Regions from separate parts of the Homo sapiens genome. Here regions 2, 3, 4, 5 and 6 are each linked to region 1. The links are contacts of gene promoters, found by promoter capture Hi-C in blood cells and fetal thymus (Javierre and others, 2016). All regions are on one chromosome and are shown on one strand. The core of a region is centred on a gene start or on the middle of the fragment in contact, and the rest is flanking DNA. Distances in the headings are between cores, read along the strand shown. Region 1 holds the start of SKIC8 (SKI8 subunit of superkiller complex). Region 2 overlaps PSMA4 (proteasome 20S subunit alpha 4). Region 3 has its middle 3.3 kb from the start of HYKK. Region 4 overlaps IREB2 (iron responsive element binding protein 2). Region 5 overlaps IREB2 (iron responsive element binding protein 2). Region 6 overlaps CIB2 (calcium and integrin binding family member 2).

Region 1 (4,162 bases), core at 729-3,228:
GTGACTGAGAAAAATTAGTCATATCACTCTGAAACATGTGAACTTGAGGGTTAAGGATGCTGGCATGCAGGGAAGTCATGTGTGCAGCAGAAGAGCTGCAGGATGTCTTCTCTTTTGTGTTAATGTGAGATTACTGAGGACAAGAGAATAGGTCCTGGGAGATGTGGGTGTATTTGCCAATTTCTCACCACACATAGCCTCCTCAAAAAGCCCCCAAAGATGGCCAGGTGCAGTGGCTCATGCCTGTAATCCCAGCAACTTGGGAGGCAGAGGTGGGTGGAGCACCTGAGGTCAGGAGTTTGAGACCAGCCTGGCCAACATGGTGAAACCCCGTCTCTACTAAAAAAAAAAATACAAAAAAAAATTAGCCGGGTGTGGTGGTGGGTGCCTGTAGTCCCAGCTACTGGGGAGGCTGAGGCAGGAGAATCACTTGAACCCAGGAGGCAGAAGTTGTAGTGAGCCGAGATTGCGCCACTGCACTCCAGCCTGGGTGACACAGCAAGACTCAGTCTCAAAAGAAAAAAAAGCCCCCAAAGATGAACTTCACCTAGTTGTAAGTGGTCTAATAGTCCTCCGTCTCTCTCTCTATATATATATTTGAACTTCAAAACTAGTTTTTTCGAAAAATATTTTTTAGAGCCAGGGTCTCACTCTGTCACCCAGGCTACAGTGCAGTGGCCCAATCATAGCTCACTGCAGCCTCAAACTCCTGGGCTCAAGTGATCCTCACTTCTGCCTCCTGAGCAGCTGGGTCTACACGTGCACACCACTGCGTCTGTAACTTTAAAATTTTTTGTAGAGATTGGGTCTCGCCATGTTGCCCATACTGGTCTTGAAATCACGGCCAGAAGCAATCCTCCCCCCTTGGCCTCCCAAAGTGCTGGGATTACAGGAGTGAGCCACCACATCTGAGCCACAGGGCGGCCTCCATAATGGGGCATGAGCCTCTTCCCATCTTTTTTTGTTGTTGTTATTCGAGACAGTCTCACTCTGTTGCCCAGGCTGGAGTGCAGTGGTGTGATCTGTGCTCACTGCAACTTCTGCCTCCAGGGTTCAAGCGATTCTCCTGCCTCAGCCTCCCAAGTAGCTGGGATTACGGGCACATGCCACCACACCCGGCTAATTTTGTTTTTGTTTCTGTTTTTTTTTTTTTTACTTGAGACGGGGTTTCACCATATTGGCCAGGTTGATTTCAAAACTCCTAACCTCAAGTGATCCACCCACTCCGACTCCCAAAATGCTGGGATTACAGGCATGAGCCACCACACCCAGCCCCATCTCTTTTTTTTTTTTTGAGACGGGGTCTAGTTCTGTTCCCCAGGCTGGAGTGCAGTGGCGTCATCACGGCTCAATGTAGCCTCAACCTCCAGGGCTTAAGCGATCCTCCTGCCTCAGCCTCCCAAGTAACTGGAACTACAGGCATGTGCTAATTGTTTTTATTTTTAGTAGACACGAGGTCTCTCGCTATGTTGCCCAGGCTGGTCTGGAAACCCAGAGCTCAAGCAAGCCTCTCACCTCGGCTCCCAAAGTCCTGGGATTACAGACGTGAGCTACTCTGCCTGGCCCTCAAAAAAAAAAAAAAAAAAAGTCAGTTGACAACCTATTAAACTGATATCTGTCACGTTAATGGGTCATGACTAGCAGTTTGAAAGACAAAGCTCGATTTCACTGAATTTATTTCAGCAACAGAAGTTATTAGCTTTAGTCCAATCTCAAAAGTACAAAATGAAATTGCAACACAAACCTCTAAACCTGCAGTTGCCGGAAGCTAAACGTCTGCGCTTCCGGAAGCAAATTTCCAACTACCACTCCTCTGGAAGCAGGACCTGGCTTCCTCCCTCCTCTCTCCGCCCACCCTCGTCGGCGTCTGCCCCGCGCCCGCCATAGCGACGGCAACGGGCGCTGCGGAGTGCTCCGAGCCGTGAGGGCGGGGCCGGCGCGATGCCCCGCCCCTTCGATAGCTCATCTTTGCGCGTCGCAGTCGCGCGGAGCCCGGCTTCCGACGTGCAGCCTGGCAGTGCAGTGGTGAGTTGGAGCGCAGGGCCGTTGGGGATTGGGGTCATTAGGGCCGTTGACAGTCCAGGCCAGAGGGCGAGTGAGCGAGGTTGGGCCCGAGGCTGCCTGTAAGCAGGTCCGTTCAGGGATGCTCCAGGCCCTGGGGCCTGAGGGTGGCTTCCATGGCTCCATTTGCCCTGGCTGTTCCTCGGTGTACGGGGCCTGAGGGGAGTGGGGGAGGCCCGTGGGTGGCCTCCTTTTGCGTCCTGAGAATGTTCTGGGCAGTATCGAGATTAGGGCTGGTTTCTCTGCGGAGGAGATCATTTATCCGTAGCTGGGAGGGCTGTATTAACCGAAGTTTTCCAGTAGTGGGCCACGCTGTCTTAGGTAGCGTGCTGGACAGATACAGACATCACTGGACGGGTACAGACAGAGGCTGGGTTCGCTTTACGCCAAGTACCGTGCAATACTGTGGGCTGTTGACTTGCCTGAGTAGTTTCATAGAGGCATCTGTAGTGTTCCTTGGAAACACTGAGTCAGTGATGAATTCTGCCTAGGAAATTTAGGGAAAAGTTTCCCAAAGAGAGAAGATGGCAAGAGAGGGCTAAGGTCTAAAGTCTCTTAGCTCTGACCTTCATAAGACCCTGAAGTAAGAGGTAGTGTATCTTGGTAGCCTATACTATAGCTTGTATCCACCTTTTAGTGTCCCTTGGGGAAGCTTCCTTAACCGCTTCTAAGCCTCCCTTTTCTTACTAGAAAAGTGGAACTGATAATAAAAAAATAGTAGTTCCCCCCTTATCTGCGGGGTGTACGTTCCAGTGGATGTCTGAAATCTTGGATAGTGAAGGACCCTGACTGACTTACCGTGGTTTGACTTACAATTTTTCAACTTTACATAGGTTTATTGGGAAGTAACCCCATTGTAAGTTGAGGAGCATCTATACTGTGTTTTTTCTCATACAGATTACACATACATACCTGTGATTACTTAGTTTAATTCGTAAATTAGGCACAATAAGAGAATAACAACAATAATAATAAAATAGAATTATAACAGTGTAATAAAATGTATGTGAATGTGGTCTCTCTCAAAATATCTTACTGCACTCTACTCACCTATTTTTGGACTACGGTTGACCTCTGGAACTGTGGAAATCAAAACCTCAGCTAAAGAACTACTGTACCTAGTAAGCGGGGTTATGAGGTTTCAGTGAGCTAAATCTTTGTGTATTACTTAAAATAGGACCGGATTCATTGTACATCCTCAAATGTGCACTCATTGATAGAATCACACCCTTGTCTTTTGGAGCCCGGGTTTTTGGAAGCTGGCTTACCGCAAGCCTTCCTCCTTTTTTTGTTTCTATCCATTGCCAAATGTGAGGCCCAGAATGACAGGGAAGAGGACAAGCCTGTGCTTCAGCAGGCAGAAGGCTGTGCTGAAGCAGAGGTTGAATACCATTCCCATTAGCCAAACTGGCTTGAGCACTTTCCTGTCTTTCCTACCCTGGGCAGAAAGAACCCTGTTCATGGGTCACAAATGAATAAAACACTACCAACCTGTCTGTAATCCCAGCACTTTGGAAGGCCAAGACAAGAGGATCGTTTGAGGCCAGGAGTTTGATACCAGCCTGGGCAACATAATGAGAACTTGTCTTTACAAAACCAAAACAAAACACTACCAATTTGAGATCTTCATAGGCAAGGATTAGTTATAAATTGTTTGTTTGTTTGATTTCCTGTTATTGGAAAACCTTCGGCAGCTTTTTAGGCTGGCAGATTTAAAGAAAGTAACCTGAACCTGGATGCCTTAACTGTGTGGTCCCTTAAACTGCCAATGGGTAGAATTGCGAGGGCCGTGAACTTGGCTGAGAGGAAAAATTGCATCTTTATGTTTCCTAACCTCCAACTGAAATTTAGCATTTTCTTCCACTGTGAATGTAGGCAACAAATCACATTATTAGCAGTGTGACTTTGTTATGAATATAAATTATAGATATTTTCATATCATGATATTGTGTAAGCTCATTGCAACTTCGAAATTATGGTAGTTATTAAATTTGCTTCTAGATCACATATATAATGTGTCAGTAAAGAAGCACATATGTTTTTGTATTTTGATAAAATTTTAGCATACAGTCTATCCTCATTATTTGTGGATTCTGTATTT
Region 2 (4,404 bases), core at 1,341-3,840, 240 kb before region 1:
TCCTCCCACCTTGGCCTCCTGGGTAGCTAGGATTACAGGCACATGCCATGGCGCCCAGCAAATTTTTGTATTTTTTGTAGAGATGGGGTTCTGCTATGTTGCCCAGGCTGGTCTCGAACTCCTGAGCTCGAGCAATTTGCCTGCCTCGGCCTCCCAAAGTGTTGGGATTACAGGCATGAGCCACCATGCCTGGCCCATATACATAATTTTGATGACAGGGAGGGCACACACGGCACGGGGTGAGAAGAGGGGGTACTAATGCTCTATAAAGAGTGTCTTTAACCTGGGGTCCTCAGTCTCCCAAGGGGTCTGTCATAGAATACAGGGGGTCTGTAAACTAGATGTGAAACAAAATCACAGCTTCTAATTTCACAACTCCTAACTGAAAATTAGCATTTATTAATGTAGTTAACGAACCCCAGTATATTAGCTATATCAGCAATGCTGTCACCAACAGAAATCACAGATATTTCCATATCACATTAAGGTTGTTGCAGCTATCTTAAAATACTGTTTACATTCATCACCATGGCAAAATTATGGCAGTTATTAGACATTCTGCTAGATTTTATAGCACAACAAAAATACTCACAGCGCTATTATTTCCAATGCATGTGGCCTTCCATCCCCCGTAATTTCCACTAGGGTCACTCTGATAGAGCTGAAAGCCATAGTGCTTATCCCAGCCAATGTACAGCAATGAAACACCAAAGGGACGTTTTCCTTTAACAAAGAAAAAAAGCCAAACATATCAATAATCTAAATTTAGTATCACTACAGTTACTTGAGCTCAGTGAAGGTAGCTAAACCCTACTCTGTGAACTTAAGCATTCATAAACTGTTTTGTATTCTGGCTACCATAGATAAGCTCCATTACAAATTCGACTTTTGTTTCTACGATTTGGACACAGCCAGAAGAGGGAACAGACAAAGGACCAGTGCTGAATTTCATTATTATGTAAACAGCAGTTAGTTTCCAGATTTGAAAATGTTGTTTTGGACTTTCAATATCCTATTAATAAAACGAGGGTAATCTACATGGTGGAGGAACACGTTCATTCATGAAGCAAGAATGTATGAAATTCTAGTGTTCTATACTACTGTAGGATTAATATAGTTAACCATAACATATTAGTTTCAAATAGCTAGAAGGATATGGAAGGCTCCCAACACAAGTGTTTGAGATGATGAATGTGCCATTTACCCTGATCTGATCATTATGTGCACTGAAACATCATTATGTACCTCATGAATATGTACAATTCTTATTTGCCAATTAAAAAAATTAAATTTAATTTAAAACAAAGGGTCTATTTTCAATTTTTTACTACCTCAAAAGGGTTATAACTCATAAAATGTCTTAACTTTTTCGAATAAAATTTTCAAAAAAATTAAATACCTCCAAATTGTGTATAAGCTTGTTTGATATCACACAGCGCTGTAACCAACTGCTCACAAGGTATTGGCTCCTGATACTGTAATAAATACCTAGGATAAAGAGATGGGCACATTAGTAGTTTTCTCTAAAACACAGACAGACTCTAAGGAAAATATTCTCTGAAAAGCAATCTATGCCATGGGGACAACCTAACAGTCATTTGTAATTTGAAGGGGAGGGAACAAGTCAACATCTGAATATTCTCATAGTAAATAATATTTTGTAAGTTTGGTTGAAAAAAATCTGTAATTTTCAATTCAAAGATTTTTAATGACTTTAATCTTTGCAAAAGTGAGCTCTCCTTAGAAACATCAAAACTAGGCCAGGTGCAGTGGCTAATGCCTGTAATCCCAGCACTTTGGGAGGCCAAGGCAGGCGGATCACGAGGTCAGGAAATCGAGACCATCCTGGCTAACACAGTGAAACCCCGTCTCTACTAAAAATACAAAAATTAACCCGGTGTGGTGGTCAGCTACTTGGGAGGCTGAGGCAGGAGAATCGCTTGAACCCGGGAGGCGGAGGTTGCAGTGAGCCAAGATCGTGCCACTGCACTCCAGCCTGGGTGACAGAGTGAGACTCTGTCTCAAAAAAAAAAAAAAGAAACATCAAAACTAATTTCTGTATCATCAGTTATGCTATTTATGACCATACCTTTGAGCAATGAGCCTTAGTTCATTAGTCAGAACATTAGCATCAGAAGTTATGCCTGCCACACTGCAAGCCATGTCCCTTGAAGAAAAAAAGACATTGATCTGTAAGCAGGGAAGATGCTTGCAAGGAGTGTTTATAAGTATTTAAAAAATTCTAATTTCTATTAGAAATTCACTATGTTTGCTTCACAACAGCTACTTCCTTCAGAAAAAACCTACAAGTTTTATCTTTGTAGGAGATGTTTACTCGATGTCACTCAACATGAAAGATAAACAAATGCACCCTTTAAGTTATTTAATAGATGTATTTATCATTACCACCTATGAATAGGATAACAAAATTAACGCCAAGAAGCTAATGTAATCTCAAGAAGATTCAGCAACAAAGAATAAAAAGACAGGCTTGCCACAATGGCTCACGCCTGTAATCCCAGCACTTTGGGAGGCCGAGGTAGATGGAGGGCTTGAGCCCAGGAGATCAAGAACAGCCTGGGCAATACGGCAAAATCCCATCTCAACAAAATATACAAAAACTAACTGGGTGTGGTGGTGCGCACCTATAGTCCCAGCTACTTGGGCGGCTGAGGTGGGAGGATCACTTGAGCCCAGGAGGCAGAAGCTGCAGTGAGCCAAGATGGCGTCACCGTACTCCAGCCTGGGTGACAGAGCAAGAATCTGTCTCAAAAAAAAAAAAAAAAAAAAGATTTTGCTAGACAGACTGCTCTTGAGTAATATTCATTTCCTAAGGCCTGGCTTGACAGAGGTGACAGGGGACAATGGCAGGAGGGTTTACAAGCCTGCTTAGGAAGTACAGGGCTAGGCTCCTACTAGAGGTGCATTTCATTTTTTTGGGCCCACTTCCTGAGGGCTGCCCTGGCTCTCTTATAGCTGAGACTCGCCCTGTGACTACGCCTAGCCAAGCCTGCCAGCTGTTGAGTGGTCCCAACAGAGGCTCTGTGGAGGGGTGACACCACTTTGGACAAGTTTATCAAAAGGCCCTGATAATCAGCATTTACCAAGCCCACCACCACTGAAAGGAAAGTCTCTACTTAGCACGGTCAGCTCTCCATGAGCTGCAAAGTTCTGCACACTCAAATATAACAAACATTTCACACAGTGTACAAGGCTTGGCTAAATTCTTCGAGACCTCTAAGAGGCTTGTTCTTTAGTAAGATTCAGTGTAATTCAACAAAATCCTGCGTAGCTATTCTAAACAATACTTTGAGGGCCTACTAAATGCCAGATACTATACTATTTTATTTCATTCATTTTATTTCATTAAACTGCCACAACCACTTTAGGAGGCTCTGAGGCCCAAAGAAATTAAATAATCGGTGCAAGGTCACATAGCCTGCATGGGTGAAGCCTGGAGTTGAACCCAAATCTGTGTGACTACTAAGTCTGTACTCTTATCATTACACAATGCTAGTTTCTCCACTAAGTGTTTGCCCTGCACTTAAAAGGAGTAACACATGGTACCAGGCCTCAAAGAGGTTTCAAGCAAAATAAAGGCACAATTTCAATTCTACCACATCGCACGGAAGAGCCCTCCCAAATTACATAGATCCCACTTATGTGAGAAAGTGAGATTTTTTTTAAACTCTTTCCTAAAATCTCACTTACTCATTGAGTTTATAAATTTTTTCAGAAAAAAAGACTTCATCAAGAAGCTTGTGGATGTTGCGTCTCTCTGCTGCAAGCAAAACACCATCATTTGCTAAAATTCCCAAACAGGTGCCTGCATGTCCAATAGCTTCCATGGCATATTCAACTTGGTATAAGCGACCTACAAAACAAAAGCAGTGAGAAGCCAAGACTCTCCTCTGTGCTCCTGCACCACTGGCCCAAAAGAAATCAGCAATGAAGCAAGCTAGAAACAAATTTCCACTTTCACTCTTCTATGGTATAATCAACCTGGTGATGATAATTGCTTCAAAGTACAAAAAGGATGAACTTTGCAACTACCAAAAAAAGTTTGTAATTTTTTTTTCTAAAAGTCTAACACATTTATTTTTAAACTTGAGGCAGATTAAACAATTTCTATTTTACCTTCTGGAGAAAATATAGTGGTCCTGGAGTCATATCTTCGAGACTGCAAAGGAAAAACACATGAGTGATTCCTACCCACTGAAAGTAGGCCAACTCCTGCAAGCCTACAAATGATCTTACAAAACCTATCCTGGTATACAAAGTTCAATAGGTGAGAGGAAACTGACAAGAAAAAAGGCACCTTCTCACTGCTTTCCTTCTATTTCAATTTTCCCACTCAAGTCTGTAAACTGAGTACAAGCAATACTGTTTATCAGGCAACCGTTT
Region 3 (4,349 bases), core at 1,775-4,274, 200 kb before region 1:
CCTTCTCCAGCCAAGCAGGACTTCTCCGATAAGTCAGAGCCCTCTATCTACTGTAGGCTACTGGAAGAGAGTCCTGGGTACTGGTCCACTCATGCCTGCAAATTGGTTTCTTATTTTGTTTTTGCCAATGCACATCCACCCTTTGTTTTCTGTCAGGATATAACACACTCGGATTATCTATAGTCACCCTGATTAACTTGGATGATTCCCAGACCCCTATCAACCACCTACTGAGGGAAGCTTCTTCTCCTGCTTTAGATATGGTTCTTACCTGCTTCACTTCTAATCTCCAAAAGGCAGGGCTGTTTTTCACAACCCCAGGGGAACATAATTAATATCTCATTCCTTTAGATTGTCAAAGAGTGATTTTGACTTGGATTTTTCTGTAACCAGAATTGGAATCCTATTGGCTCCCTTAGGCCCCTCTGCATGCTTTTTGCCTTGAGTGGCTTCTGAGTTATTTCCACCTGTCATTATTCCAGCTCTACTGGTCTTTCTCTACTTCTCTTGGGATGAGGGAATGGGAATTAAGATTGAATCTGGAAATTGTGAGAATTGGAGGCAGGGCTATTGGATCCACAACTGCCCTCTTTGGTATGTGCATTTCCACTCCCTGAATTCTTCTGAAATATAGTATTTGGTAGGGTGTGGTGGCTCACGCCTGTAATCCGAGCATTTGGGGAGGCCGATGGAGGTGGCTTACTTGAGTTCAGGAGTTTGAGACCCGCCTGGATAACATGGTGAAACCCCATCTCTACTAAAAAGACAAAAATTAGCCGTGCGTGGTGGCTAGCGCCTGTAATCCCAGCTCCTAGGAGGCTGAGGTAGGAGAATCGCTTGAACCTGGGAGATGGAGTTTGCAGTGAGCCGAGATCGCACCACTGCACTCCAGCCTGCATGACAGAGCAATACTGTCTCAAAAAAGAAAAAAAAAAATGTACTTTGTAAATTGCCTTTTTCACTTTAAGTGACCATTTCCTTGTTTTAAAGAATATCCTCGGCCGGGCGCGGTGGCTCACGCCTGTAATCCCAGCACTTTGGGAGGCCGAGGCAGGCGGATCACAAGGTCAGGAGATCGAGACCATCCTGGCTAACACGGTGAAACCCCGTCTGTACTAAGAATACAAAAAAATTAGCCGGGCATGGTGGCGGGCACCTAGAGTCCCAGCTACTCGGGAGGCTGAAGCAGAATGGTGTGAACCCAGGAGGCGGAGCTTACAGTGAGCCGAGATCGCGCCATTGCACTCCATCCTGGGCGACGGAGCGAGACTCCGTCTCAAAAAAAAAAAAAAATAATAATATCCTCATACATAAATCTTTCGTGCACTTTATGTGTTTAAAACTGCTCAGCATCATATTACTAGGTATAAGAGAATAAACACTTTTAAGGCCTTTTTATTTTTTGAGACAGGGTCTCACTCTGTCACTCGGGAGTGCAGTGGCGTGATCTCAGCCCACTGCAACCTCCGCCTCCTGGGGTCAAGGGATCCACCCACCTCAGCCTCCCGAGTAGCTGGGACTACAGGTGCGCATCACCACGTCCGGCTAATTTTTTGTAGAGACGGGTTTCGCCATGTTTCCCAGGCTGGTCTTGAACTCCTGGGTTAAGCAATCCTCCCACCTCAGCCTGGCAAAATGTTGGGATTAGGGGCGTGAGCCACTGCACCCGGTCTAAGCCTCTTAATACATGTTGTCAAATCATGTTTTCCTCTCAATAATACCAACATTGGATTTTAAACATTTACAACATTTACAACATTTTAAAAAGTTCCACCAATGTAAGACAAGATGCGTTGTCATTTTTTTTTTTTTTCTTGAGACAGAGTCTTGCTCTGTCGCCCAGCCTGGAGTACAACAGTGCGGTCTCAGCTCACTGCAACCACCGCCTCCTGGGTTCAAGCGATTCTCCCGCCTCAGCCTCCCGAGTAGCTGGGACTACAGGCACATGCCACCATACCCAGCTAATTTTTGTATTTTTAGTAGACACGGGGTTTCACTATGTTGGCCAGGCTGGTCTCGAACTGACCTCGTGATCCGCCCGCCTTGGCATCCCAAAGTGCTGGGATTACAGGTGTGAGCCACCGTGTCCGGCCAGATATGTCATTTTAAGCGGGGCATGGTGTTGCATGTCTATAGTCCCAGCTACTCCAGGAGGCTTGGGCAGGAAAAGTGCTTGAGCCCAGGAGTTCGAGGTCAGCCTGGGCCACATAGTGAGACCCGTTTCTAGGGGGGAAAAATGTCATGTCATTGTATTAACGTTTCTTCAGTTGGCTACTGGAGCACTTTTAAGTAGTTGCTCTCAAACATAGCTCAGTGGCTGGTCATGGTGGCTCATGCCTGTAATCCCAGCAGTCTGGGAGGCTGAGGTGGGAGGACTGATTGAGGCCAGGCGTTCAAGACCAGCCTGGGCAACACAGTGAGACCCCCACCTCTATTTTTATAATTTTTTTAAAAAAGAGCTCAGCGATAAAAAAAAAAAAAAAACAAAACTGGAGTGAAACAAAATGAACAATTTGCAGTGAGATTATGGACATGATTTTACATTATAAAACAATGTCTCATAAAACAATATCCCAGCAGTTTTATGATACTTCCTTTATATATTACAAGTTGTTTAAAATGCTCAAAATTGGCTTTAGTTTCCACGGTGGGCTACAGCTAAAGCAGCACTTAGAGGAAAATTTAAATATTTACATTTACATTGGAGGAAAAGTGTTACAAAGCTGGGGGAAAGGAGGAAATTAAATAAGTAACAGAAAGGAAATACTTCAGAGCAGAAACCAATAAAACAAAACAAACCGGGCACGGTGGCTCATGCCTGTAATCCCAGCACTTTGGGAGGCCCCGGTGGGCGGATCACAAGGTCAGGAGTTTGAGACCACCCTGGCCAACATGGTGAAACCCCGTCTCTACTAAAAATACAAAACAAATTAGCCAGACATGGTGGCGCATGCCTGTAATCACAGCTACTCGGGAGGCTGAGGCAGGAGAATCACTTGAACCCGGGAGGTGGAGGTTGCAGTGAGCCGAGATCGCACCATTGCACTCCAGCCTGGGCAACAGAGCCAGATTCCGTCTCAAAAAGAAAAAAAAAAAAAAAAAATCCAAAACCAAAACCAAACAAAAAACCAGAAAACAATGGAGAAAATAATGTAAAAAATTGGCTCTTTAAAAAATTAACTCAATTTCTAACCCTTTAGAAAGACTAATCAAGGAAAAAAAAGAAAACACAAATTACCAATATTGGTAATAAAAAGGGACCCTGCCACAGATCATATAGATATTGATAGGGAAATACTGAAAAAAATGCTTAAAATTCAGTACTAACACCACATAAACACAAAATTCACAGTGACAACACACTTATTTAAAAGACAGGGTCTTGCTGTCACCCAGGCTGGAGTGCAGTGGCATAAATCATAGCTCACTGCAGCCTCAACCTAGGCTCAAGCGATCCTCCTGCCTCAGCCTCCCAACTAGCTGGGACTACAGGTGCACAGCACCACACCAAACTAATTATTATTATTTTTTAAGAAACAGGGTCTTGCTATGTTGCCCAGGGTGGGGTCAAATTCCTGACTTCAAGTGATCCTCCTGCCTCCTGCCTTGGCCTCCCAAAGTGTGAACCACCTCGCCTGGCCACACTTGTCATTATACCAGCAAATTTTGTGAGAATTACATATGCATCTGCTTTTGCAATAAATGCATTTTTCAAGTACAGAACACAGGTTTACAACATACATCAAATCAAAATGGTAAATCTGAAGCTACTTTGTAATTAAAAAGCAAAATTAGCATCAAGTGAAAACTGTAAACCAACTAAATGCTACACTGATGAAGCTCTTAAGTTTCCTCCTAGACTGCATATTCAAACTATCAGCTTGTGCCTATGTTGGTATTAGCCTTTAGGTAATGCAAACTTCTTAGAATACTAAATTGGAATCCTTAGAAAATTCTAATAAAGTGCCAATTATGGTTTATGATTACTGAATTCTAAGAAATAAACCTTACTCTTTTAGGTTGCTAATAATAGTGGGAAGAAAGGATACGTCTTTTTGGATGAGTGTCCCCGCCCAAATCTCATGTCGGATTGTAATCCCCAGTGTTGGAGGTGGGGCCTGGTGGGAGGTGACTGGATTATGGGGGTGGTTTCTTATGGTTTAACACCATCCCCCTTGGTGTTGTCCCAATAGTGAGTTCTCCTGAGATCTAGTTGTTTAAAAGTGTGTGGCACCTCCCCTGTCTCTCTGTTCCTCCTGCTCTGGCCACGTGAAGTGCTTGCTCCCACTTAATCTTCCACCTTGATTGTAAGTTTCCTGAGGCCTCCCCAGAAGCCAAGCAGATGCCAG
Region 4 (4,024 bases), core at 793-3,292, 170 kb before region 1:
ATATGGTAAATACAAAGTTCATATCACATAGTTAAAAACAAATATACAGATACTGAACCTAAATGTATTTTTTATTAAGACAAAATTAATTTAGGTCAAATAAAAATGTTCAAAAAGTCCAGACAAATGGCAGTATTCAACTGCGTTCCAAAGATTCTCAGGAATGAGAAGGAAGAAAGGCTCAATGTACAAGGCCCTCCCTCCAAGCTCTCTCTCCTAAACTAGAGCCACTGTTTTCATCTTTCTCTACACAATAGGGTTTCCAATTAAGATTTCATTTGAGGAACAAAAGCGTTCTACTACTATAAAACCTTTAGAAACTACTAAAGTGGCTGGGCAGAGTGGCTCATGTCTGTGATCGCAGCACTTTGGGAGGCCAAGGCAGGCAGATGGCTTGAGGCCAAGAGCTCGAGACCAGCCTGGCCAACATGGCAAAACCCCGTCTCTACTAAAAATACAAAAATAGCCAGGCAGTGGTGCACATCTGTAATCCCAGCTACTCAGGAGGCTGAGGCACAAGAATCGCTTGAACCCAAGAGGCAGAGGTTGCAGTGAGCCAAGATCACACCACTGTACTCCTGTCTGGGCAATAGCAAGACTCTTCCTCAAAAATAAATAAATAAATAAATAAAATAATAAATACGGCAGGCACGGTGGCTCATGCCTGTAGTCCCAGCACTTTGGGGGGGGCCGAGGCAGGCAGATTGCCTGAGGCCAGGGGTTCAAGACCAGCCTGGCCAACATGGTGAAAACCTATCTCTACTAAAAATACAAAAATTAGCCAGGCGTGCTGGTGTGCGCCTGTAATCCCAGCTACTCGGGAGGCTGAGGCAGGAGAACTGCTTGAACCCAGGAGGTGGAGGCTGCAGTAAGCTGAGATCACGCCACTGGACTCCAGCCTGGGTAACAGGGCGAGATTCTGTCTTAAAAAAAAAAAAAAAAAAAAAAAGGAAAAGAAAAAGAAACAAAGATATAAAAATTGTACCTATCATTAGTTTATATATTACAATACAAAAATTTCCCTGAATCATTTATACCTTAAAAAACTGAAGCCTCTCTCGATTTCTGCCGAATTCTACTTCTTGATTTTTTAACACTGTTTCAGGTCTAAAAGGAAGAAGAGCTGGCATTAAACGTATGTATTACAAAAAAGACTTGCCTTGTTTCTTTCTAAGTCATCGTTCTTAGGCATATATATACACAAATATATTCTTAAAATCCTTGGAAGAACTATTTACTAGGTTTCTCAGAATTATTTTCTTTTTCAACAAAGTTCTGCTTTAAAATAACACACCGGAAAGCTACAAAAGTGAGTTGTATTTTACTGAGTGTAAGAAAGCCACATTACACCAATGTCCAAAACTGTACTCAAGTGATAATAAAAACACACTTTGTTGGGTTATCCGCTGCAAGAAAAGAGGAAAGTAGTAGCTTCAACGACAAGCATGTACTTTCCTCCCCACCTGGCTCTTGTGCCAATTAAACTAGGAGATGGGTGCTGATTATTTCTATGCAGCATTGACGAACAACATCTCAACATCATTTTACAGTTTAAAAAGAGCTTTTGGCAAAAATCTTTCATTCATCTCATACCAAAAGAAGGCTCTACTTTATGTATAAGTAGCAGTTCACTTTACATGGATTATAAATATAGTTTACATGAATTATTTAAACTAAGAGACAAAAATAATTGACCTCTAACCAGTAACATAGTATCATTTTTAAAAAATTATTTTTATCTAATAGTTATTTTTAAAAATTATTTCAAACAGCTTTAAGCTGCTTCTTTTACCTGCCAGCTGGTGACTGGGTGTTGACTAGAATATCAATATAACTTAAATTATACGTGTCCTCCAGGGACCAGATAATTAGTCCAGATAATTACAGTTGTTTAATTGTCAACCTTTTTTTTTTGAGACGGAGTTTCGCTCTTGTTGCCCAGGCTGGAGTGCAATGACATGATCTCGGCTCACTACAACCTCCGCCCTACCGGGTTCAAGCGATTCTCCTACCTCAGCCCCCTGAGTAGCTGGGATTACAGGTATGCACCACCACACCCGGCTAATTTTGTATTTTTAGTAGAGATGGGGTTTCTCCATGTTAGTCAGGCTGGTCTCAAACTCCCGATCTCAGGTGACTGATCCACCCGCCTCAGCCTCCCAAAGTGCTGGGATTACAGGTGTGAGCCACCACACTCGGACAACTTTTTTTTTTTTTAAACAAAGATTACTTTAATAATTCATAGTTGAGTCATCTTTTGAAGCCAAGCATATCTTAGTGAGATTTTTCTCAGGGCCTCAGGGAAAACAGCTTTCTGAGCCACTCCAATTATTTTACCTTTCAATAGCACTTATGGCTACAAAGTGCCATACAAACATTTATTGGCTCATAACCTGACTTCAAACTAGGGGGTAATTTGAAGTGCCAAAGGTTATGCTCTCATCTTTCTACTCAACTTCTTAAGTCAATAATTAATACTTCACTGACACATTAAAAGATACAAATGAGTAACTATTATCACATAGCCAGGAACTACAATATAATCTATCTTAATACTTTGTAATTCGGAGTCAAAATTATGGGGAAATGTTACAGCAGATTGGATTTTTAGAAATAAAAATATAGCACTAAGCACTTACGATGTGCCAGTTATAAAAAGAAACAAAAACTAAAGAAATCAATGATTTTGAATCAATAAATCTTCCTTTTCAGGAAATTAATTTCTGTATAAGAGGTGTTAATCTCAAAAGTCAACATGCTCCTAACAACCAGGACAACTAGGCAACAGGAACAAGAAAGTGACTTCATAAAACTTTCAAAATTTGATGGCAAAAGACTCAGAGATTATACTGAATCCTTAGAAAGGAAGAGCACACGAGGTCACTATAACCTGTGGCTTCATAAAAATATTAAGCCCAATATTTTAGAACTAGACAGAATTTGGAAGATCCAGTCAGGGACAAAGGAATTAACGTATTATTTGGTACTTAGGATAAATGAATGGACATTACTCTTAGCTACTCTAAATCTTAAATGTGTTAAACTTTTTAAAACCTAAAGTGCAAGTAATTTTTTACTAAATTAAAAAAAAAAAAAGCCAGGTGGAGTGCCACATGCCTGCAGTCCCAGCACTTTGCGAGGCCAAGGTGGGATGACTGCATGAGCCCAGTTCAAGACCAGCCTGGACAGCATAGTGCCCATCTCTACCCCAAAAAAAGGTAGATAAAATAAGTCAGGCCTGACAGTGTGTGCCTGTAGTCCCAGCTACTCTGGAGGCTGAGGCAGGAGGATCATTTAAGCCTAGGAGTTGGAGGCTGCAGTGGGCTACAGATGGTGCCACGGCACCTCAGCCTGGGTGACAGAGAGACCCTCCATCTCAAAAAAAAAGACAGTTTACTAACAATGGGATAAATTGTTATATTTTACATGAATTATTTAAACTAAGACAAAAACAATTCACATAACTCTCTTAAAAATAAAAATATGGCTGGGCACAGTAGCTCATGCTTATAATCCCAGCACTTTGGGCAGCCAAGGTGGAAGCATCACTTGAGGCCAGGAGTTCGAGACCAGTCTGGGCAACACAGTGACACCCCCTGTATACAGAAAAAATCAGCCAGGCATGGTGGTGCATGCCTGAAGTTCCAGCTACTTGGGAAGCTGAGGTGGGAGGATCACCTGAGTCCAAGAGATCGAGACTGCAGTGAGCCATGCTTATGACACTGCACTTCAGCCCAGGCAATAGAGTGAGACTCTGTCTCAAAACAAAACAAAACAAAAAAAACCAACTTTTGAAGGTCAAGGCAGACAGATCGCTTGAGCCTAAGAGTTTGAGACCAGCATGGGCAACATAGTGAGACCTTGTCTCTAAAAATAAATAAATAAATTTTAAAAGTTTGGAAACTTTATAGTACATATTTTAAAAAGCTGTATGACTTTTTTTTTTTCTGAGACAGAGTCTTGCTCTGTCACCCAGGCTGGAGTGCAGTGGCGTGATCTCGGCTCACTGTGATCCCTGCCTCCT
Region 5 (4,447 bases), core at 289-2,788, 150 kb before region 1:
CTTTTTGTCTTCTATCAATATCACCATTAAATCTAGTCCCAACCACCAGTACATCATCTCTCACTTAGGTTCCCTAGGTGGTCCCCCAACCCTATACTGTGATTTTCGAAATGTGGTCCTAAACTGCTGATGCCTTAGCAGGACTCAAAGCAGTGGCACCAAATTGTACTACAGGTTGAGTATCCCTAATCCAAAAATCCAAAATCCACCAGGTGTGGTGGCTCACTCCTGTAATCCTAGCACTTTGGGAGGTTGAGGCGAGTGGATCACCTAAGGTCAGGAGTTTGAGACCAGCCTGACCAACATGGTGAAACCCTGTTGGACGCAGTGGCTCACACCTGTAGTTCCAGCTACTAGGAAGGCTGAGGCAGGAGAATCGCTTGAACTAGAGGCAGAGGTTGCAGTGAGCCAAGATTGTGCCATTGCACTCCAGCCTGGGAGACTAGAGTGAAACTCCATCTTAAAAAAAGAAAAAAGAAAAAAATCCAGAGTGCTCCAATGAGCATTTCCTTTGAGCGTCAGTGCTCAAAAAGTTTCAGATTTCAGATTTTCAGATTAGGGATACTCAACCTGTAGTACTCGTATTGTTTACTGTCACACAAAATACCAGTTTCACTTAAAAATGTCCCTAAGAAGCAGAAAAACTGTTAATTTTATTAAATCTCAACTGCTGAGGTCAAGTCTTAATATTCTGTGTGACAAAAATGAAATATATTTATACAATATTTCTACTCGAAAACAAAGTACATCAGTTGCTTGCAGAAAAACTCTTGTATGATTGAGCTGCAAGCTAAAATTAAGCTTTTTTTTTTTTTAAAGAACAGTTTTTCACTTGAAGGAACTGACAAACTATGGTTATTCAAATGTGTACATTTGGCAAAAAGTTTCTCAAAAGTGAATGAAGGCTGAGCACGGTGGCTCACACCTGTAATCCCAGCACTTTGGGAGGCCGAGGTGGGTGGATCATCTGAGGTCAGGAGTTCGAGACCAGCCTGGCCAACATGGTGAAATCCCATCACTACTAAAAATACAAAAAATTAGCCAGGTGTGGTGGTGGGCGCCTGTAATCCCAGCTACTCGGGAGGTTGAGGCAGGAGAATCGCTTGAACCTAAGAGATGGAGGTTGCAGTGAGCCGAGATTGAGCCACTGCACTCCAGCCTGGGCAACAGAGCAAGATTTGAATGAAATAAGCTTCTACAGTCTGCTCATTACATTATTGGTCTTTGAGAAATAAGAGTTCATCAAGTTATGCAGAACTTCCAAAGGTGGACACCATTACATTGTATATTAAAATACACACACACACACACACACACACACACACACACACACACACACACACAAATTTGTTAATATCACCACAGCCCTCTCAACTTAGGAGCTGGAGTTCCTACATAGCTGTACACTCTGAAGGCATCCTGCCTGTGCCAGTACCTGGACTGAGGCACCCCCGTAAAGAAGGCCTGCTGCTCTGACAGCACGTGGACTACATCTGTAAGCTGCCTCGAGGGTCATATATTGAGCTGTCACTCCTTCTACAAGCCCCGACATGGCCCATGAGCTCTGAAGGGCTCTTGCCCCCTACCAGCATCTGTTTTCCCAACGCATGCCCACACCACTAGTTCCTGATCATCAGATCCCTGCCTGCACTCCAGAGGGTGGCCTACTGCCTACCCAGCAACTCCAGACCAGCTCCAACCTGGCCAAAACCAATATACTTCTCTGTTATCTGTGGGCCAACCCACACCTATTCCAGTGAGTTCTGAACCTCTTCCAAGTTTGTCCTTCCTTGGGTATTCTCCCTTAGCCCTACAGTATTATATACAATTATCCTGTATTACAATTACTCTTACCATAGTTAATAATTATGTATATTAAGCTTCCTCTGTTTAACCTATTATGTGGTTTCTATCTCCTGACTGGACCCAAATTGCTACAACATAGTACTGTACTTCACATATACTTTCCATGTATGTCCCCATTACTAAACCGTGTCTTTTCTTTAGCACAGATGCTATCTTAGCCATCTTTCATTTGCTAGAAATATACAAGTACTCAATAAATATTAGCTCAATAAATTAAATCATATTGTTTAGAGACTCATGCAACAAGTAAAAAAAATGCACTGGATTACGTCTGCCTCTTCTAATCAGGAATTTCTAGAATTCTATGAATCCATAAAGCTAACCCTTTAAGGACAGGTAATTAAAAACGCCATGGAGGAACTGGGATGATGGTAATTTAAACTGGTTTAGTATAGTAATTCGTGTCATCACACTTCTAAAATAAGCTGATAACAATAAATATCCTTTTGATCAGTTACTTAGTGGAAGATCCAATAGGTGGTTCGGCTCTGAAAAAAAAATGCTGAGGTCTGCTATTTGTATACGGGAAGCATCCGATGAAAGGCAAACCAAGGCTCCCAAGACTGCAGATTCTACTATTCAAGGCTAAATAGCTGCTGCAAAGATTAGAAAACACAGTGTATCTCTCAGTACAGAGGTCACAAACTCTGTTTCATGTCTGCTGGCTTGCAGACATGTTTTGCTTGTTCTGCAGAGTTTTAACATTTTAAATTTAACTGCCAACATTTAAAAAACTACAGGTCTTTCAATCAGAAAACTTTACAATACCAACCTTGTACTTCTGCTGGAACTTAGTAAGCACCTACCTCTCTATATAGGACATGTGCCTTCCTGTTTGCCACACAATTCCCAGCAGAACATTTCACTTGTTTACGTTGCCTCTCTGATCCCTATAAACATGAGCTTGCAACCCCTGCTGTAACAGGTTTTTACAAGCATAGGTTTTGGAATCAAGATTTTTGTTCATGCTTCTGTTCCACCACTTAGTAGGTAACGGTAATTAGTTGTGGGACCTTGGCCAAGTGTATAACAGAGCTTATAGAACTGGATACGGTAAATACATACTCAACAAATACTTAAAAAAATTTTTTTTATTACTGACATTACTAAACCGGGAAACAGAATGGTATTGGAAAGAAAAGGCGTTGGTCTTGAAATCAGAAGATATGAGTTTAAGACTAAGTTTCCTCACCTAGAAGATATGTTGTGACCTTAGGCAAATTACTCAGATTTTTAACCTTATCTGTATTATCTGTACACAACAGATTTAAAACTATCTTCCGTGCTTATCATGAAGCAGCACACTGAAGTAAAAGGGTTTTGATATTTGCAGAAATGGAAAATTCCAAGTTCAAGCAGTAGTGAAGAAATTACCCATAGGGAATATTAGTACTCTAGTAAGCAGGCTTTAGATAACTACATGTAACAGAGAAACCCATCAGCCTGAAGGAAGGGGGAAAGACTCTGAAGCCACAGGTTCTCTAGGCCTGCCAAAAGCCCTCAAAGAGATTCCATCTTTGGAGTCCAGACTGGGAAAGGGGGCTAGGACACCAGAGCAGAAACCAGCCAGCATAGCTACAGGGTAAAGCTAACCCTGCTGAAGGCTAGGGGCCTGGAGAAAAGATAAGGAAGCTGTTCTAGAAGGCCCTGTAATCCCATCAGGCCTGGCAACAGGACTAACCCATGCCTATGTCTGACTAGAGTCAAGTAAGTGTTTCTGTCTCTAACCAGAACCAGGCGGGATAGGGCTGATTTCCAATAAACAAAGTCTGACCTCCACAGAACAAGACCTTATTTCTTCAAATAAATAAATAAATTCTGACCTTTTTTTTCTCTCTTTTAAAATATATTGCCATTGGGCCCGGCGTGATGGCTCACGGCTGTAATCCCAGCACTTTGGGAAGCTGAGGCAGGGAGATCACATGAGGCCAGGAGCTCGAGACCAGCCTGGCCAACATGGTGAAACCGCATCTCTACTAAAAATATAGAAATCAGCCGGGCGTGGTGGCGTGCACCTGTAATCCCAGCTACTTGGGTGGCTGAGGCACGAGAATCACTTCAACTTAGGAGACAGAGGTCACAGTGAGCTGAGATCATGCCACTGCACTCCAGCTGGGATGACAGAGCAAGACTCTGTCTCAAATAAATAAATATATACATACATACATACATACATTGCCATTGAGAGAGTCTGAGGAAGCAGAAAACAAAACAGATTCCTGCATAAGATTTTGTTTTTTCACCTGTACTGGCACGTCCTCAGAATGCCTATACCACAGCCCTCTTTCTAAAAAGTTCCTTCTATACCAATTGCTGGTGGGCTCTGTGTAGCCTTGCCATCCTGGCATGAATAGCTGGGACCTGGAGCCAGCCTTCCAACAGACAACCAATTTACAGTCTGGCCAGTGGCACAGGGAGTTCGCCAAGCACAAATGTCATGTCCAATAGGCTGCCTCAGCCTCGTTCTGTGATACCTTGAACTTGACTTAGGGAGAAGGCAGAAAACAGATGGAAACAAAAAAGAACCAAGAGAAAAAGAAAAGCAGAATAATGGGCCGGGCATGGTGGCTCACGCCTGTAA
Region 6 (3,921 bases), core at 503-3,002, 170 kb after region 1:
GCCATGTGTGCTTTTTGTTCCCAAGGCACTCAGTCTCAGACACTCAGAGACAGACTCTCACCTCCAGTGTGTGGCCCTTGTGATAGAGGCAGGTGGTGGAGTGTGTTCTAGGGAAGGGCACTAGTGGGCAGTGGGAGGCCAGCAGGGAAGGGGGACAAAGTCCAGAAACGATACAGCACTTGAGCAGGCCTTGGGAAGATAGGTCGGGTTTTGCCCAGTGGGGCCCAGAGGAGGCATTCCAGGTGGAGGGGACAGCGTGGATAAAGGCTTGGGAGTGGGCAGGGGCAAGCAGGCAAGCCATGCTCAGAAGTGAGGAGTAGCTTCATGGGGGTGGGGAGCCCAGGTTCCCACTCCAACCAGCCTGGCATTGGGTTACTCATCGGAGCCAGTCCCAGTGTTATGTTCTGATTCTTTGCCAGAGCCTAGCTAGACCCTGCCAGGCGGGGTGGGAGAAATGAGAGCTGTGAAACCTGAGAGCCCCACATCTCCTACCCTCTGGCTCTCCAGCCAGCCATTGCCAGCCCGGGCTGAGTGGGGGTGAGCCTGAGTTACAGCACCCTCTCCCCTAAGTGACACCTAGGGTTTCTTGGGACCTCCCAGCCTGGTAGTCTAACCTTTCCTGGGCAGGGTGCACCCTCTTGGTTCCCGGTGCCGGTGATTCCCAACATTTAAGCTTCTGTCCAGAACACTCCTCTGCATTGTACGGCCATCCCCCAGACCCCTCAAACTCCAAAACAGGGGTCACAGCCTCTCCAACACCCACTGCTGCTCCTCCAGCCATTTCAACTCTCTGCTCTCCCTCAGCCCATGTTTTCAGTTAAGAACAAGGCCTGTGACTCAGCCTCTTTTGTGGGTCACCTGGAGGTCCCCTCCTCCATCACGACAGCCAGGGCCCTGGGCTAGGCCTGCTCAGTCTCCTGCAAACTGGAGGTCTGACTGCTCCCTCCTGCGCCCCTCCTGCCCATCCCCCTCCAGCCACCCGCCCTCTTAGTTCTCTCACTCTTCCTTCATCTCTTTCTTTCTCTTCCTTTTTTTTTTTTTTGAGACGGAGTCTCGCTCGCCCTGTCACCCAGGCTGGAGTGCAGTGGTGTGATCTCGGCTCACTGCAACCTCCGCATCCCAGCTCCGCCTCCCAGGTTCAAGCAATTTTCCCTGCCTCAGCCTCCCAAGTAGCTGGGATTACAGGCACCCACCACCATGCCCATCTAATTTTTGTATTTTTAGTAAAAACAGGGTTTTGCCATGTTGGCCAGGCTGGTCTCAAACTCCTGACCTCAGGTGATCCACCTGCCTTGGCCTCCCAGAGTGTTGGGATTACAGGTGTGAGCCACCGCGCCGGGCCTCCAGCCTCATTTCTTACTCCCTTTCCCTTTGCACCCAAAGTTTTAGGCACACTGAAGGGCTTCTAGCCAAGCCCTCCCTCACCTCTGGCCCTTGTTCTCCTGCTGCTCTCCCTGCTCCTTTGCTAACCTAGTCTGGCCCATCTTTCTGTCCAGGCCAGGCCTCACCTCTTTGGGACGGGCTCCCTGACTCTCTCTCCACCAATCCATTCAGCTGGGAGTACTCAGGGAGCCTGACACATATACATCCCCAGTCCCTTGTGTGGCCACAGAATGGTTTATACTGGGCACCTCACTGTTTACACTCCAGCTTCCTTCTTGTATGGCCTCTGTCCAGGCACAAAAGAGATGTTTGGAGGATGTTGTCAAATGAATGAACAAATATTTGTTAAGGCGTGGCTCCAGGAGAGCAAAGAACTCTAGACAAAGATTCTGAAGCCCTAGATTCAAGTCAGCTGGGTAGTTGATGCTGTGGGCCTTAGCAAGCCACTGTTCCCTTCTGGGCCTAAGTGTCTCCACCTCTAAAATGGGAACTACTAACCCAGCTGTGCTCATGTCACAGGGTTCTTGTGGGGATCAACTAAGATCACTGGAGACTGACCTTGAGCCGTGTGATGGTCCCCTGGGCAGTGCTGAGGCCTGAGCTGGCAGAGCTGGATGGAGAGCCATTTCCATTAGAGCTGGGAGGGCCCATGGCTCGGCTCCTGACAGCTGGCACAGGCAGACCAGGCATGTAGGAGATGGGAGGCAGGTGGGTTACCTGGAACAAGTCACCCTTGAGTTGAGCTTTGGAGAAAGGGTTTGGACAACCTGGAGAAAGAGGAGAGGGCACTCCAGTTGGGGAATAGGGTGAATATAGGCTCGGAGGCAGAACTCAAGCCTTAACTGGGAAAACGTCTGGGCTTCTACTGTAAAAGCCCAGCCTGTCCTGTTTTCTGCTGCCAATGTTCTGAGAGCCCATCACTCCTGGGTTAGGCCCCCTCTCTCCTTCCCTCCCTTCCACTCCTCATGACCCAGACCTGACCTTTGCCGGAAGACCTGTCCCTGTGTCCCTGTGTACTGTCAGGAACCAAGCAGTGATGGGGCACTTGCTCTCCAAAAGTGTAAGAAAGGGTTCCTTCAGACATAGGGCTGTAGCTCCCAGGGCAGCTGAGGGTGTAGTGGTGGGCAGGGTGTTTGGTGACTCCAGAGAAGGGAAAGACAGCAGAGCTACCGACTCTGGGGAGATGCCTTTGGGACCTGGGTGGTGGATGGAGCTGTTGTACTCTTTCCTATCAGCTGGGGCCTATAGACTTCCTGTACCTTATCTCATTTGCTCTTCACACTGTCCCCTTCAGAGAGGCCTATTTCCACTTTACAGATGCAGAAACTGAGGCTCAGAAAGGAGAATGACTTGCCTAAGGGTCTGAAGCTAGACTAGAATTTGACCCTGACTACCAAACCTTTTCCCCTGCCACACTTCTAGGCCACCCTGAGCCCTGAGAAGCTTTTAAGAACACCTGCCATATTCACTACCTGTGCACTGCCTCCTTGGGGTGAGTCCCAGGGAAACAAGTGAACAGAAGAAAAAGTGAAACATCAGTTGATGAGCAGGTTCATGGCAGTTTTGTCAGTGATGTTAAAACCAAGAAATAGGTGTTACTAAATGTTCAGAAAGAGAAGAAAGATTAAGACTAGGCAGGGACTCTGCAGCCACTGAAATAACGTAACTGCTGTGGAAGGCATAGATGGAAAAGTCTGGTCACTCATCCCACAAGCCTGTATTAAGCACCTGCTGTGTATAAGTATAGGAATACACAGCAGACGCAGGACATGGAGTGGCTGGTGTACAGTGGTCATGGCTCTGTTTGTAGTCATAGGCAGTGGCCAAGAAGCACAGAGGATCTTTTCTTGCCTCTGCTTCCTTGCCAGTGAGGGCCCCAAGGTCTACTCCCATTAAAAAGAAAAAAAGAAGGCTATGCGTGGTAGCTCATGCCTATAATCCCGGCACTTTGGGAAGCCTAGTTGGGTGAACACCTGAGGTCAGGAGTTCGAGACCAGCCTGACCAATATGGTGAAACCCCATCTCTATACTAAGAATACAAAAATTAGCCAGGCATGGTGGCGCATGCCTGTAATCCCAGCTACTTGGAAGGCTGAGACAGGAGAATCACTTGAACCCAGGAGGCGGAGGTTGCAGTGAGCTGAGATCATGCCACTGTACTCCAGCCTGGGTGACAGAGCAAGACTCCGTCTCAAAAAAAAAAGGGGGGGGGGCAGGGGAAAGGGAAGCACAGAGGCCTAAGTTCCATTCCCAGCCCTCCTGGGCTGTGTGTGCAACTTAAGGCAAGCTACTCAACTTTGCTGAGTCTCAAGTTGCCCATCTTTAAGATAGAGAGATAATGCCCACCCCCATTGGCTAATGATAAGGATTAAGAAAAATTGGATATTTAGAGCCCCAGGTGCCAGGTGCATGGTACATCATGTACTGGTTGTGATGTGGTTTTCAGCCTGGGTTGCACGTTGGGACCACCTGAGTGGCTTTGAAAACAGCCAATGCCTGGATCCATCCTTGGGGATTTCTCTACAATTTGTCTGGGGT

The links. The method cuts DNA at HindIII sites, captures the fragments that hold promoters and counts their contacts. A CHiCAGO score of 5 or more calls a contact.
Region 2: a contact is called between a fragment that was not itself captured here and the fragment with the promoter of SKIC8 in region 1, in 10 of 17 cell types (erythroblasts, megakaryocytes, fetal thymus and 7 more). The highest score is 11.3, in erythroblasts.
Region 3: a fragment that was not itself captured here is called in contact with the fragment with the promoter of SKIC8 in region 1 in 5 of 17 cell types (erythroblasts, M2 macrophages, megakaryocytes and 2 more); the score reaches 7.1 in erythroblasts.
Region 4: a fragment that was not itself captured here is called in contact with the fragment with the promoter of SKIC8 in region 1 in 2 of 17 cell types (megakaryocytes and erythroblasts); the score reaches 6.3 in megakaryocytes.
Region 5: a contact is called between a fragment that was not itself captured here and the fragment with the promoter of SKIC8 in region 1, in 3 of 17 cell types (monocytes, endothelial precursors and M2 macrophages). The highest score is 6.8, in monocytes.
Region 6: a contact is called between a fragment that was not itself captured here and the fragment with the promoter of SKIC8 in region 1, in 3 of 17 cell types (naive CD8 T cells, activated CD4 T cells and erythroblasts). The highest score is 6.0, in naive CD8 T cells.

The regions. Positions count from the first base shown.
Region 1 is chr15:78,297,425-78,301,586 of GRCh38, reverse strand. It overlaps SKIC8 (SKI8 subunit of superkiller complex), which reads left to right and starts at 1,978. Exons shown (of 11, transcript NM_025234.3): 1 at 1,978-2,025. RefSeq lists enhancers at 1,581-1,670, 846-1,812, 1,911-2,260, 1,813-2,780. The HindIII fragment of the contact is 6,178 bases long and covers 1-2,715 here.
Region 2 is chr15:78,541,953-78,546,356 of GRCh38, reverse strand. It overlaps PSMA4 (proteasome 20S subunit alpha 4), which reads right to left. Exons shown (of 9, transcript NM_002789.6): 3 at 4,138-4,180; 4 at 3,712-3,874; 5 at 2,090-2,167; 6 at 1,400-1,488; 7 at 593-723. Among named protein-coding and RNA genes, the nearest start is that of PSMA4, 3.7 kb to the right of the region's middle. The HindIII fragment of the contact is 2,341 bases long and covers 1,420-3,760 here.
Region 3 is chr15:78,502,060-78,506,408 of GRCh38, reverse strand. No RefSeq gene overlaps it. Among named protein-coding and RNA genes, the nearest start is that of HYKK, 3.3 kb to the left of the region's middle. The HindIII fragment of the contact is 5,564 bases long and covers 243-4,349 here.
Region 4 is chr15:78,467,615-78,471,638 of GRCh38, reverse strand. It overlaps IREB2 (iron responsive element binding protein 2), which reads right to left. Exons shown (of 22, transcript NM_004136.4): 6 at 1,038-1,107. Among named protein-coding and RNA genes, the nearest start is that of IREB2, 31 kb to the right of the region's middle. RefSeq lists an enhancer at 3,800-4,024. The HindIII fragment of the contact is 6,487 bases long and covers 1-4,024 here.
Region 5 is chr15:78,447,722-78,452,168 of GRCh38, reverse strand. The region is part of intron 2 of IREB2 (iron responsive element binding protein 2); the gene reads right to left. Among named protein-coding and RNA genes, the nearest start is that of IREB2, 12 kb to the right of the region's middle. The HindIII fragment of the contact is 688 bases long and covers 1,195-1,882 here.
Region 6 is chr15:78,125,816-78,129,736 of GRCh38, reverse strand. All of the region lies in intron 1 of CIB2 (calcium and integrin binding family member 2), which reads left to right. Among named protein-coding and RNA genes, the nearest start is that of CIB2, 3.7 kb to the left of the region's middle. The HindIII fragment of the contact is 2,153 bases long and covers 676-2,828 here.